3 separate regions of the Homo sapiens genome follow, and regions 2 and 3 are each linked to region 1. The links are contacts of gene promoters, found by promoter capture Hi-C in human tissues and cell types (Jung and others, 2019). All regions are on one chromosome and are shown on one strand. Each heading gives the region's core, a stretch centred on a gene start or on the middle of the fragment in contact. The rest is flanking DNA. Distances are from core to core; before and after follow the strand shown. Region 1 holds the start of SIRT4 (sirtuin 4). Region 2 overlaps SPPL3 (signal peptide peptidase like 3). Region 3 holds the start of SPPL3 (signal peptide peptidase like 3).

Region 1 (2,707 bases), core at 208-2,707:
AGCGGCAGTTCTGGTTGTCTACACATTAGGAACAATTAGGAAATTTGTAGATCAGAATCCCTGGGAGTGAGACGCAGGCCTTGTTTGATTAACTTAATAAAAAAAATATGATAAATAAAATTGGAGAAGCCAAGCAGGTTAAGTACATTAGTCCAGGTATAATATATTTGGCTTCATATTAACTGTAAAAACATCACTTTTGGCTGGGCACAGTGGCTTACGCCTGTAATCCCAGTACTTTGGGAGGCTAGGGTGGGCAGATCACGAGGTCAGGAGATCAAGACCATCCTGGCTAACATGGTGAAACCTTGTCTCTACTAAAAATAAAAAAATTAACCGGGCGTAGTGGCATGCGCCCATAATCCCTGCTACTCAGGAGGCTGAGGCAGGAGAATTGCTTGAACCCGGGAGGCGGAGGTTGCAGTGAGCCGAAATGGCACCATTGCACTCCAGCCTGGGCAACAGAGCGAGACTCCGTCTCAAAAACAAACAAACAAACAACAACAACAACAACAACAAACTATCACTTTTTCAGATATGTATAAACACATTTCTTCACAAGTTCAAGGTATTTTACCAATAGCAAATAACTTGATACTGTCGTTGTGAATGAAAAGGATCACAAACTCTGATGTTTAGAATGAGTCAAATCTAGGCCGGGAACAGTGGCTCAGGCCTGTAATCCCAGCATTTTGGGGGGCCGAGGTTGGCGGATCACCTGAGGTCGGGAGTTCGAGACCAGCCTGGCCAACATGGTGAAACTCTGTCTCTACTAAAAATACAAAAACTTTAAAAAAAAGTCAAATCTAGATCCATGATTAATGACGTGCTCATTTCACATTGCATGTTTGTATCAAAACATCTCATGTGGGTAAAGCATAGACAGGCACAGAGAAAAGAAAAAAAGACAAAAAATAAGAGAAAAGATGGCCGGGCGCAGTGGCTCACGCCTATAATCCCAGCACTTTGGGAGGTCAAGGCGTGCGGATCACCTGAGGTTAGGAGTTCAAGACGAGCCTGGCCAACATGGCGAAACCCCCGTCTCTACTAAAAATACAAAAATAATCCCAGCTACTCGGGAGGCTGAGGCAGGAGAATCGGTTGAACCCGGGAGAGGGAGGTTGCAGTGAGCCGAGATCGTGCCACTGCACTCCAGACTGGAGTTTTTTCAAAAAAAAAAAACAACAACTCCGTCTTAAAAAAAAAAAAGAAAAAAGAAAAAAAATCTTATGTACACTATAAATATATACACCTACTAAGTGCCCACAGAAATTGAAAACAAAGAAAAAAATCCATGATTAAAAGCTTTTATATTAACGGGGGAACCTCTGACCAGAAAGAGCCGACAGGGGGCGTTCCTGGATGATCTGGGGCTGTCAATTGCGAGACGCGGAGGATTGTGGGACTTGTGGTTTTTCTCGCATCATTTAAGCTTTCTGGACTACATGTCCCAAAATGCAAATGCAATCAGACGGTCCCACTGTGGGGTGTGAAGTGTCCGTAGAGCTGTGAGAGGTAAGTGTGTTCTGTGTGTGCTGCGGATTTCTAGAAGTTGTGGATTTCTTGTGAGGGATTCTATTTCTCCTCTTTGCCCTCGGTGGGACCTGGAAGAGAGTAGTTGTTCCACTGATGCACGTTTTCAGCGGGGGTTTCCCCTGACCCTTTGGTCTCGGGAAACCGGACTGTGTGTTTGTTCAGCTGTTCACGTTTTGCTGTGGAATGTCAAGGAGAAAGCGGGGTCCTGATCTCAGATCTGGAAAGCCAAACATAAAATAATGTTTACATACGGGGTGCATGTCACTAGAGGATTTATGCATTGCATTGTGTCAAATAATATGTCAAAGTTTTTTCTTTTTCTTTTTTTTTTTTTTTTTGATACGGAGTCTTGCTTCTTCGCCCAGGCTGGAGTGCAACGGCGCGATCTCGGCTCACTGCAACCTCCGCCTCCCGGGTTCAAGCAATTCTCCTGCCTCAGCCTCCCTAGTAGCTGGGATTACGGGCACGTGCCACAATGCCCGGCTAATTTTTTTTGTATTTTTAGTAGAGTCGGGGTTTCACCATGTTGGCCAGGCATGTCTCGAACTCCTGATCTCAAGTGATCTGCCTGCGTCGGCCTCCCAAAGTGCTGGGATTTCAGACGTGAGCCACCGCACCCGGCCCTCTATTGTTACAGCTAGAAAAGCTGACGGGCAGGGGTCTTGTCTCTCTGATGTGTCCAAGTAGCAGAGCTTGCAGTGGAGGGTAAACTAAAATAAGGGGGAAATGAAAAAATAAAAGGAATGCGTGTGTGTGCTTAATTACATGAACAAAATCAAACAAAACCTGACTCATTAGGGCCAGACTCAGAGGCTCACACCTGTAATTCCAGCACGTTGGGAGGCCGAGGCGGGCAGATCACTAGAGCTCAGGAGTTCGAGACTAGCCTGGCCAACATGGTGAAACCCTGCCTCTACTAAAAATACAATAATTAGCCGGGCATGGTGGCCATGTAGTCCCAGCTATTCTGGAGGCTGAGGCAGGAGAATCACTTGAACCCGGGAGGCGGCGGTTACAGTGAGCCAAGATCATGCCACTGTACTCTAGCCTGGGCAACAGAGGGAGACTCTGTCTCAAAAAACAAAACGAAAACAAACAAACAAAAAATGAGAAAAAAAAAAAACCACCCCAGTTTCTCACATGAGGCTTCTTTTTCTCTAGAATGAAGATG
Region 2 (2,700 bases), core at 29-2,528, 550 kb after region 1:
CAAACTCTGTGGTTAAGCTTGTGCAGTAATTAAGTAGTATGTTTATTATAACTAAATCTCAATAGACTTTTCTAAGATTTCCCCTCAGGCTCAGGGAGAAGTGAAATAGGATTCTGACTTATAAACCCAGATAAATGAAGTTTTATGTTACTGAATACCTGCACCAATAGCCTCAAACTTCATTATGCATAAAACCAAACGTAAGGAAAAGAGAAAAAATAAATTCAAACAAAATAAACCAGAAGAAAGGGAGATGTAACATCAATTTCAACACTAATTAGAGAGGGAAAAAGAAGAATTTAGCGTCTCTTTGGGGAAGGTGGAAACATGAATTCAGTTTATTTTTATTTATTTATTTATTTATTTTTTAAGACAGGGTCTCACTCTGTCACCCAGGCTGGAGTGCAGTGGTGTGATCTTGGCTTACTGCAACCTCTGCCTCCTGGGTTCAAGCAATTCTCCAGCCTCAGCCTCCCAAGTAGCTGGGACCACAGGTGTGTGCCACCACACCTGGCTAATTTTTGTATCCTTTGTAGAGACAAGGTTTCAACATGTTGCCCAGGCTGGTCTAGAACTCCTGAGCTCAAAGCAATCTGCCTGCCTTGGCCTCCCGAGGTGCTGGGATTACAGGCGTGAGTCACCAAGTCTGGCCTTATTTTTTATTTTTTTAAGTAGAGGCAGGTCTCACTCTCTTGCCCAGGACGGTTTGAAACTCCTGAGCTCAAGTGACCCTCCCACCTTGGCTTCCGAAAGTGCTAGGATTACAGGTGTGAGCCACCACACCTGGCCTTGGTTTAAAGTAACCACTGAACTGCCTTTGAATCTAGTAAAAAGGGAGCTAATATTTATAATTAATATTCCATAGCAGAGAACTGTCTTTCTGTTCTCCTGTACCTGAGTACCATAATCACCCTGGGTGTGTCCCCTGGCTTTCAAAATGCCACATTGAATCTGAACCGTGCTCATTTTAACTACCGAGAGAAAGGAGATAATCACAAGTTTGGGGAGAGAGTGATTTTTATAAGTGGCTGAATGTCTGGTGACAGAAAAAGGGAAGTAAGGCATTATGTAAAACTTAAAACAAAATCTAGTCTTGTTCATCACACTGGTGTGAGATAAGGTGGTGGTGGTGCATGTGCACAAGTAAGAGCAGATTCTGACCTGCACTACTTACCAGCTTCTGATGAACTCAGCAGCCGAATCTATTAAAGGGAGAGGAAATTCACTAGCACTGCCCTGACAGAATCTCAAGGTTGCTCTATAAGCAACTAAATACAACTATAAGCAAAGTTGTATTTGCAGTGTTGTTCTCCAACAGCCACTTTCTAATGTACAGGATCAGGATATATCTCAAGGAGTCAGAAGAAAGGCCAAACCACAGCCATAAGATCGCACTGAGGACTACAGGGACACCATGGGTCTAGAGTTATTCTCACAATCACAGAATTAAGACCTCAAGTTAAAGTGCTTGAACATGGCAGGGAGCCCAAGAAGGGTGGAATACCAAAACTGCTATTTCTTGTCCAATCTAATGACTGAGAATAGTGGTATCATTAACAGAATGGCAAGGATTTACTTTAACTTACTTGCCCCCGCCACACCCCAGAAAGTGCTAGTCTATCTAACAAGTATTATTTTAGAATTGCTGTATTATTTTAGTCATCTGCATATTTTCGATGGACTTATAAATTAATCTATATATTTAACATAAGCCAAATTGACAATTTTCATAACTACTACTGATTGTTCCATTTCTCAAAAATCACAATTAAATCCAAAAGGTTACAAAAGGAAAGGTTAGATTTCTCACAGATGCTTTAAATTACTGCTCTTTTACCATAGCTCATTATACCTAATGTGTAAGAAAATAGTAAGGACAAAAATGCCTTAAAAATTTGTGCATAAATTACTTTTTATCACTTTAGTGTAATAACACTAATGATCAATGAGCAAGCTACAGGTGATTTGTGTAACACTCAATTTTGGTTTTTTTTTTGGCCATCTTTCAAGGCCCAGGATGTAATACAAACTTGATTACTATGTAAATATCCATCTCTACAAAAAATTTAAAAATTAGCTGGGCATGGTGGCACATGTCTATATTCTTAGACATGCTCATGGAGGCTGAGATGGGAGGATTGCGTGAGCCCAGGAATTTAAGGCTGCAGTGAGCTATAATCAACGCCCCTGCATTCCAGCCTGAGCAACAGAGATCCTCCCTCTAAAACCAGAGGAAGAAAACAAAAAACAAAAGAAAACAATAATAATAAAAAGTAAAACTAAACCTAAACTTTACCTGATACTCTCTTTCCCTCTAACAAAGTTATTAGAGATGGGCTCAACTCTAACAAGCATCTAAATCAGTACTCTAAAGGTAAAAAATAATTTCAGGTAATCAATACCAACTTCTACAAAGTTGTAGCCAACTGGCAACACAATTTCTGAAGACATTCTATTGTTTAAGTAGATACGAATAGATTAATGAGCCACCACAGAGGCAAGTGAAACAGGATGATCTATCTATACTAGCAATGGCCTAAGGTTACCAAGATATAGCAAATACAGGTAAAATGTAGACATGTTGAGAAGATTTCCTTTGAATTTTACTTAGAAAATCCAAACAGCTCTAAAAAACAGATCAATATATACTCTGTACGAAGTGATTTTTGCACGTGGCATCTGAAAATATGTCCAAGAAAA
Region 3 (2,700 bases), core at 160-2,659, 600 kb after region 1:
CCCAAACCCTGGCACTCCCTTCTCCGGATATGTAGGTTGTCACCCCATAAACTACACAGTAGCTTCTCGCTTCTCGGCCCTTAACGAGCTACTTACTAACTTTAAAAGCCCCACAGAAATGAACTTAACTTGCAGGTCCTCCACCTCCACACTTGGCCCTGGGCGCCATTCCTCTGAAAATAATAGTACCAACCCTTACAAAGACTCTGCCCATGCCCCACTGTCACCAACGAATTCCTTTTCCAGAAGGAAAAGGAAACAGGTTCTTCAGGCTCCTCTTCCAACCTCTTCACCAGTGACTCCCCTCCAAGGTTCGTGGACTCTACCCCCGCAGTTTTCCTCCCCTCACTCCCGGGCCTCTGCCCACCTCACCAACTCTCCCTGCGCTCCCTGTCCCAGAGCCAAGCGGCGGCCGCTCCACTCTCCCAACTTAGAAGTTCTGCCTCTATCACCTGTTCTCACTAGAGCTTCCTCTCAGCCCAGCGGCCCACCTTTGCCCTGGCCTGCCTCTCTCCACCCCTTCGAGTCCTCCTGCCCAGGAAACACCCCCACGAGTCAGTTCCGGGGTGCCTGTCGGATTCAACTTCCCATCCGTGGGATTCCCACCCCCGGGGTCATGCTCCCCTTCTCCATCACCTGCTCCGCCCATAGCCAGATGACATCCGCCGCTGCCTCCTCCTCCATTCCCCTTCTCGGACGCCAGGTCCCCGGCCACTCACCGCCCTCCGTGCGCGCCAGCCGCCCCCTCCGGTGGGGAAGAGGGGGGCGTGCACCCCAACCCGCGCCCCCCCCCCACGACACGCACCTGTTCTTCCTCCTCTTCCCCTCGGCGGGCCGCGCCGGCGCCCCGACCCCCACCCTTGCCGCCTCCCGGCCTCCCGGAGCCCCGCACTCACCACGAGTAGGTCTGCTCCGCCATGGCGCTGCCTCTCGTGGGCTCCGCTGCAGGCTGTGGCCGGGCCCGGCGGCGGCGGGCTCGCTCGGGCCGTAGCTGAAGGCGCGGCCGGGGTCCGGTGCTTGCTTGCTTGCTCGCTCGCTGGCTCGCTGGCTGCACGGCGGGCCGGGAAGGCGGCTGGCGGGGAGAGGCCGGGCTCCGAAGCGGCCCCGCTCCCTGGGCCCCGGGGCGGGGCGGGCTCCGCTCTCGGCCTCCCTCACCCGCGGCGGCGGCGGCGGCTCCGCTGCAGCTCCAAACCCAACATGGCGGCGGCGGCGGCGCGGAGAACAAGGGGGCCCTGGGGCGGGCGAACGGCAAGACGGGCCCGCGCTCACTGCGCGCGGGGCCGCGGGAGCGCCGCGCTCGGGCGGCGGCGGCGGCGGCCGGGGGACATGGCCGGCGGGCGGAGGCGGCGGCGACTGAGGGGGGCGCTAGGCGATGAGGCGAGGCCACTCGATCACACCCGCCGAGGGGAGGAGGGGCGGGGGCGGGGGCGAGCCTTGGCCCCGCGCGGGTCACGTGCCCAAAACACGCTCACGTGATGCGCGCCCCGCCCCTCGAGCCGGGCCCATGCGCAGAGACGTCGGCTCCTGGGTTCTAGGCGGCTGCTGCTCGCACAGCCAGAGCAGTTGGGCCGCCTCCCGCTGCCTGGTGCCGCCCCCCTCCCCACGCGGAGATGTCGCCTCGGGTACCCTCTTCCGCCCCTCTCCGAGGGGCTGCTGCACCAGCCAATCGGGAACCCCGATGCGCGTCTGTTGGCTGCCACTCAGCTGTCAACCGTCAGTCAACAGTCTGCTGGCCACGGGCCCCCCAACTGTCAGTCAACCTGTCAGTCAACAGGCAGAGGGCTGCATTCCTTCGTTCGTATGTTCCTTGGTTCATTCATTCAGGTAGCAAATATTCCAGGCAGCCAACCTTTATTGCGCCCAGGCCCGGCACCAAGTCGAATACCCCACGCTTGCCTTCACAGAATCAATCAACAGATATTTGTTGGGTGCCAACCATGTGTCAACTCACTCTGCCTTCCTAGAGCTTACATTCTAAAGGAAGAGACATAGTCCAAGCCCACAAATAAGATAATTTCAGATGCTGCTAAGTTTTACAAAAACACATTTTGTAACACAAGGTGAGGGGACAGAGAGTGAGCAGAGGTGTGGGTTACTTTAGATAGGGTGGTCAAGGAAGGCCTCGCTTAGGAGGTGACATTTGAGCTGATATTGAATGATGACAGAGAGCTGGCCTTGCAAAGATCCACAGGAAAAGAGTTCCTGGCAGAGGGAACAGCAAGGGCAGAAGGCTCAGGAAACCGTCCATTTGGAGGTCTGGAAACCGGCACAGAAATAAACACGGTAGAGCTAGACCAGAGACCAACAAAGTGAATCTGGAGCTTAGATGGAGAGAGAAGAGAGAGATTAATTGAGGCCCCAGGTACTGCGGAATGCTTCCCCAGGAGTGGATGAGGCCGTCTGAAAGGGTGAGAGGCTTATCAAAGAAAAGTCATTCTTTTGGCCGGGCGCGGTGGCTCACGCCTGTAGTCCCAGCACTTTGGGAGGCCGAGGTGGGTGGATCATGAGGTCAGGAGATCGGGACCATCCTGGTTAACACGGTGAAACCCTGTCTCTACTAAAAATACAAAAAATTAGCCGGGCGTGGTGGTGGACGCCTGTAATCCCAGCTACTCAGGAGGTTGAGGCAGGAGAATGGCGTGAACCCCGGAGGCAGAGCTTGCAGTGAGCCGAGATTGCGCCACTGCACTCCAGCCTGGG

Evidence for each region. Contacts are between HindIII fragments. The study calls those that stand out against the background at their distance.
Region 2: a contact is called between a fragment that was not itself captured here and the fragment with the promoter of SIRT4 in region 1, in 1 of the 25 tissues and cell types used here (hippocampus).
Region 3: the fragment with the promoter of SPPL3 here is called in contact with the fragment with the promoter of SIRT4 in region 1 in 2 of the 25 tissues and cell types used here (hippocampus and psoas muscle).

What each region holds. Positions count from the first base shown.
Region 1 is chr12:120,300,864-120,303,570 of GRCh38, forward strand. SIRT4 (sirtuin 4) reads left to right here and starts at 1,458. Exons shown (of 4, transcript NM_012240.3): 1 at 1,458-1,515; 2 at 2,698-2,707. The coding sequence starts at 2,699. The HindIII fragment of the contact is 7,036 bases long and covers 424-2,707 here.
Region 2 is chr12:120,846,942-120,849,641 of GRCh38, forward strand. All of the region lies in intron 1 of SPPL3 (signal peptide peptidase like 3), which reads right to left. Among named protein-coding and RNA genes, the nearest start is that of SPPL3, 56 kb to the right of the region's middle. The HindIII fragment of the contact is 3,937 bases long and covers 1-2,700 here.
Region 3 is chr12:120,902,949-120,905,648 of GRCh38, forward strand. It overlaps SPPL3 (signal peptide peptidase like 3), which reads right to left and starts at 1,410. Exons shown (of 11, transcript NM_139015.5): 1 at 897-1,410. The coding sequence starts at 919. XLOC_009911 (a long non-coding RNA gene) reads left to right here and starts at 1,747. Exons shown (of 2, transcript NR_131215.1): 1 at 1,747-1,824. RefSeq lists silencers at 760-809, 950-1,169, 1,250-1,609. The HindIII fragment of the contact is 15,749 bases long and covers 1-2,700 here.